Regions from separate parts of the Homo sapiens genome. Here region 2 is linked to region 1. The links are contacts of gene promoters, found by promoter capture Hi-C in human tissues and cell types (Jung and others, 2019). All regions are on one chromosome and are shown on one strand. The core of a region is centred on a gene start or on the middle of the fragment in contact, and the rest is flanking DNA. Distances in the headings are between cores, read along the strand shown. Region 1 holds the start of BACE2 (beta-secretase 2). Region 2 overlaps BACE2 (beta-secretase 2).

Region 1 (2,964 bases), core at 212-2,711:
ACACAGGAATAAAAATCAAATCTTGAGTAGAAGTAGCTGAAAATTGCAGTGATTCGGGGAAGCTTGGCTTCTAACTCCCCACTGTTTGAAGATGGGCTTGTTTGTTTTTTAAAACAGCCAACATAATTCAGCTGGAGGAGGTACAAAGAATTTTCTATTCCTTGTTTCTGTAGAAATCGATGGACTTTAGCTTGTCTAATTGTCCCCCCTGCCTTTAGTATCTAAAATAAAATAACCCTCGTTGCTTGCATTACTCAACGCATTTCTGCGTCTTGGCGTCTATGGCTAAACGAGTATTAATTAGACAGTCCGCAGAGAGCTGGCTGGGGATAGAAGGGGAGGTGGGGGAGAAGGGCAGGGATCACAGCAGGGTGGACTCGTGGCCCTGATTTGGGATCCTGACAGCAACTTACTAGGTGGCCTGAGGGCTGGGTGCCAGGGGAGGCAGCGGGTTCCAGTAGCATCTGACCTGCATTAGGGACAGGGGCGCGGCGGAGGGGGCGAAGGGGGCGGGGGTGGGGGGAAGGTGGCTGGGGTGAAGCCCAGCTTCGCAGCTAGCTGTGGGCAACAGAGGGAGTAAGGGGGGGCAATGAGGCTGGGGCCAGGCGCCAGCAGCAGCCACGCCCCCCACCTCCCCCGATTTTTAGGGAAAATTCTCCAAAGCTCTCGCATCCTCCTCTGCCTCCTTCCACCCTCCACCCTCCCAGCCTCCACTGAGACCTCTTTAAAACCACCCAGGGGCCGCCGGGGGATGAGGCCGGGGAACGGGCTGGACTGAGGGCGGGGGCTCGGGGGCAGCGGACGGGAAACGCCTCGAAAGCAGCCAGACCCGGCGACTGAAATGAGGCGGAGGAGCTTGGCGAGGGGAGGCGCAGGCTCGGAAAGGCGCGCGAGGCTCCAGGCTCCTTCCCGATCCACCGCTCTCCTCGCTGACCTCCGAGTCACCCCCGGAAGCTCCCGCCACTGCCGGGCGAATAGACCCCCGCGGACCCCCAAGCGCGCGGGGCCGGGGCCCTAGTTCAGGCCCTCGCTGCCCCTTTAAGGGTTCTCGAAACTTTCCCCCCGGTATCAGATGAGCCTCGTCACATCCGTTGGCCGTGGCCGCTGGGGCGCTTTCCGAGGAAATTCGGGACTCGAGTTTCCCGGGGAAGAGGCGCGGCCTGAGCCCGGCGAGGGTGGGGAGGGCAGGCGCAGGTGGACCCCGGCGCCCCCCGAGCCCCGCTGTGACCTTGGCCGCGGGGGAGGGGCTGGGCCGCTGCGGGGCAGTCGCGGCCGCCAGAGGGGGCAGCGGAGAAGAACTTGCCCAACTTGGCGGCGCGGGCTGGGGCGGCTCTGCGCCTCCGCGCCCGCCTCCCCGGCCTCCGCCTTCTCCCCTCCCGCGAGCCTCCTCCCCTCCCGCGAGCCTCCTCCCCTGGGCCCTCCTCCCGTCCTCCCCGCCGCCGCCGGTCCCGGTGCGCGCCCATCCCTGCCCGCAGCCCCGCGCGCCGGCCGAGTCGCTGAGCCGCGGCTGCCGGACGGGACGGGACCGGCTAGGCTGGGCGCGCCCCCCGGGCCCCGCCGTGGGCATGGGCGCACTGGCCCGGGCGCTGCTGCTGCCTCTGCTGGCCCAGTGGCTCCTGCGCGCCGCCCCGGAGCTGGCCCCCGCGCCCTTCACGCTGCCCCTCCGGGTGGCCGCGGCCACGAACCGCGTAGTTGCGCCCACCCCGGGACCCGGGACCCCTGCCGAGCGCCACGCCGACGGCTTGGCGCTCGCCCTGGAGCCTGCCCTGGCGTCCCCCGCGGGCGCCGCCAACTTCTTGGCCATGGTAGACAACCTGCAGGGGGACTCTGGCCGCGGCTACTACCTGGAGATGCTGATCGGGACCCCCCCGCAGAAGGTAGGGACCCCCGGCTGCTGCCGCGGGCTTTTCGGGCTCGTTGGAGGGAGGGGGCTGTCCAGAGACGCCTCCACGCGGCTTAGCGTCGCCCCCAAAGCAGCAGCTGTCCCCGCACAGAAGAGCGGGGAACGCAGAGGGGCTCGGGTGGGCCGGGGAGCGGGGGCGCTCGCTCTTGAGTCGCGGAGGACGGCAGCCCCCGCCCGGGGCGCACTGAGGGGTGTGCGCGAGTGTTTCAGAACTTGTGAGCTCCCCCTCCGCGGGGCTGGGCGGGAGAGGAGACCTGGAACTTGCCGCCTCCAATAACGTGATTTCCTTCTTGCGGGCGACACCTACTTCCAGCGGGAGACGGAGCGGTGGGCCTTGGGCGACGGGCTATTATGGGGAAAATCACCTCGTGTTCATACCCTCCCTCCCCCCCGCCCCCCCCCCACCCCACCACCATGCTGTCTCATTGCTAAAGAGGCTCGTGGCCGGCTTCCAAAGGCGCAGTACCCTTTAAAAAGGATTTATGCATGAGCTCAGCTAAAAGCAACCCGGTTAAGAAGTGGCTCGCTTGCTGCTCTGAGGAAGGAGCAGCGTCTCCCCTGCGCCCGCTTTCCTTTCTCGGAGTTGGTTTGTCAGCTGTGTCCTCGCTCATCCGGCGGCCCTGCCCCTCTGCACGGAGCGATGCATCTACACGCGGGTGTGCAGAGTGTGAAAAGCATTCCAGCTACCGGGAAAAAAACAGGGGCTGAGTGAGGTGTCCGGGGACCAAGTGGTATCCCGATTACAACACAAAAATAAAATCAAACAGCTTTCCTTTTCTCTTACTCTGATGTTCATTTACTAACACTTTTTGTAGCAAGAAACAAATGTTCCCAAGCACAGTGATCTGAAAAAAAAAAAAAAAAAATCCCAATTGATCTGCCCCCTCCTACTTTCAAACTGTCTAATCCAAGTGGGATTTGAAGTCCTTTGCTCAATTGAATGCACTATTTGAAGATAGTTTATTTTTATTTTTAACATTGTCATTTGGGTTTTGATTCAGCTATGATTCCCCCATAAATAGAACATACTCATGACTTTTGTATAATTCTCATTAAATTAT
Region 2 (2,964 bases), core at 149-2,648, 38 kb after region 1:
TTAGGGGCATGCTGTCCTGAGTGGGCACTGAGTGGGGTGGTCCAGTGCCCACGGAGAGGGGCTGGAGCTAGGACCATGGGTGGTACCTGTCTCCACTGCTGCTCCAGCAAACATATTTAACACTCACGTTCAAGGGCTGTCACACGTATGTTGAAGACTTTGCCAAGGTTAATATGTTGCAATTTTTTTCTCCAAGTCTTCTTCATTTTTCCTGTCTCTAGAATGTTCTGAAAGATTTCTTTATGACTTTTCTATACCATAATTAAAGCAAACGTCTGTATTTTGCTGGCCATAGAAGCCAAAGAGGGATGCATCTGTCATTTCTCTTCTGGGTTAGCATTCTTTCAAAATATCTGGACACCATAAAAATGTAGAGGTCAGTCAATAGAGATTTAATGCTTTCTTGTGAGAAATTCCCTTGGAAGGGCTTTAAGAAAGTCTTTTTAGAAGAGAATAATATCTTTGATCACTATATGCCTATTAAAATACTTTTTTTTTCTTGTGGGTTTACCATGGAAAAAAACATCAAAGCCTTATATGAGCCACATAGAAATAGCCTGTTTCTTAAATGGCTGGCCTGAAATTAGCGAAGGGTAGCAAATTGAACACAATGGTTTTTCTGTGTTGCGCATTCAGTTTGGGCTGATCAGATCCCATGCAAAAAGATTACTGTAAAACGAAGATGAAATTTTAGATTTTAAGAAGATTTCATTGTAAAGCTAGGTCACAGCATTCCACATTCAGGTGAGTACTAGGATTTGTAGATTATCAGTCATTATCATTAACATACTCACATACAATTGTCATTGTTGCTAAGAAGTGTTTGCACCTTTTCAACACTTAGAAATTAAGTCACATTTTCTGCTTTCAAAGCCCTTAACCTTAATCAATATTTTATAATGTGTTTTCATAGATGAGATACATTTGAGTTACCCCAGTTATAAGATGGTTACTCCTTGCAATTATTCTAGATATGAAGATTCATTTGGCTAAAATGTGGTAAAATTGCAAGGCCATTCAGCAGGTCAGTTTTAAATACAATATGATTATTATTCCGTCATCTTTGTGCGTGATTGAAAATAACAGATTGTGTGGTTGGCAATTCGCTTCCCCATTAGAAAATTTACCTTCCTACTTCTGTTGTGTCTTACATAGTATAATTATTCTGTTGCCTTGAAAAATATTATAATAAACAGAAGGGCTAATTTTTTTAAGCGTGTTGGGTGGCCGAGGAGAAATGAAATTTTGAGTGGAAAACCTCACATGAATTGTCTGTAGTTGCTTGTACTTCATCCCTCACCAGTGCAAAAGCCAATTCCACAGGAATTGAAAACTGTTATGAAAGAGAAGCCTGGTCTTCCGTCTTAACATCGGGTCATGAATTCAATGGGGAACACTGTATCTTCTTCATCTCTATGACTCAGGCACATAGTAGCTGCTCACTTAATATTTATTAGAAATAAATATTTACTGAAAAAATGAATCTCCCCCAAAGAACTGAAAGCAGGGTCTTGAAGAGATAGTCACACACCTGTGTTCACAGCAGCATCATTCACAATAGCAAAAGGTGGAAACAACACAAGTGTCTGTGGACAGTTGAATGGATAAACAAAATTCTGGTCTATACTTATGTTTTAGTTTGGGCTGCCCTAACAAAGTACCCTAGACTGAGTGGCTTATAAATAATGTCAATGTATTTCTCTTAGTTCTGGAGACTGGAAACCCAAGGTCCAGGTGCCAGCATGGTCAGGGTCCAACGAGGGCCACCTTCTGGGCTGCAGACTGCCTGCTCTTCATTGCATCTTCAGATGGCAGAAAGAGGGTGAGAGCTCCTCCGTCCTTTTTATAAGGGCACTAATCCCATCCATGAGGCTCCATCCTCATGACCTAATCACCTCCCAAAGGCCCTGCCTCCTAATAGCACCACCTTGGGGATTAGGATTGCAACAAAAGGCAGGGGATACAAACAATCAGGTCATAACAGCATATAATGGAATATTATTCAGCCTTAAAAAGGAAGACGGTTCTGGCACATGCTATAACATGGATGAACCTTGAAGACCTTATGCTATGTGATAGAAGACTGTTACAAAAGGACAAGCACTGGATGATTCCATTTATGTGAGGTTCCTGGAGAAGGCAAATTCATAGAGACAGAAACATTAAGGGTGGTGTCCGCAGGAATGGAGAGTGAGGAGTTGTTTAATGGGTAACGGGTTTCAGTTTTGTAAAATGAAGTGAGTTCCTCAGGTGGGTGATGATGATGGTTACACAACAATGTGAATGTACTTAACGCCATTGAACTTCACCTTTAGAAAGAACTAAGATGGTAAATTTTAAGTTATGTGTATTTACCACATTTTAGAAAAAATGAATGTTAATATCTAGAATAATTGCAAGGAGTAATCATCTTATAAATTGCAGTAACTTAAAAGTCTTGCCTGATGCTGCAGCAGGCGTATATGCCTTATCTCTTTCTTTTTTTATGTTTATTTAAAATTGTGACAAAATTTGAATGTTGGTAACTAGGGTAAAGTTAACGATGTTCTTTTTCTGTAAGTTCAGGTTTGGAGTGGGTCTTCAATTGCTGTCATCAACTCTTGAGCAAAAGAGAACATTTAGTGAAACTCCAGAAACATCTTGAGAACTAAGACATTACACCTTTGATAAGAATTTATTCACACTTCTTTAGAAAATGTGCAGGAAGAACTAATTTGTAGGTAAAATGACATGTCCTAAAATTTTGGGAAATGCATAATGGGTTCTTAGGGGTTCTTTCGGAGTGGCTTTAGTTGTCGCTTGGGAAAGGAAGAAGCTAATTAGCCCTGTTAATAGAAATGTTATTCTACTTATCCCCCTCCCCAACTATCATCAAAGTATGAAGGTCAGAGCTCTTTTGTCCTTTTTAATAGTTTGTTTTCTTAAAAGTGGTTGAGTGTGAATTTTCTCTTGCATGGGAAAAGG

What was found. Contacts are between HindIII fragments. The study calls those that stand out against the background at their distance.
Region 2: a contact is called between a fragment that was not itself captured here and the fragment with the promoter of BACE2 in region 1, in 1 of the 25 tissues and cell types used here (pancreas).

The regions. Positions count from the first base shown.
Region 1 is chr21:41,166,699-41,169,662 of GRCh38, forward strand. BACE2 (beta-secretase 2) reads left to right here and starts at 1,462. Exons shown (of 9, transcript NM_012105.5): 1 at 1,462-1,877. The coding sequence starts at 1,566. MIR3197 (microRNA 3197) reads left to right here and starts at 859; the gene lies at 859-931. RefSeq lists a silencer at 1,021-1,470. The HindIII fragment of the contact is 5,609 bases long and covers 1-2,964 here.
Region 2 is chr21:41,204,449-41,207,412 of GRCh38, forward strand. The region is part of intron 1 of BACE2 (beta-secretase 2); the gene reads left to right. Among named protein-coding and RNA genes, the nearest start is that of PLAC4, 21 kb to the left of the region's middle. The HindIII fragment of the contact is 8,136 bases long and covers 1-2,964 here.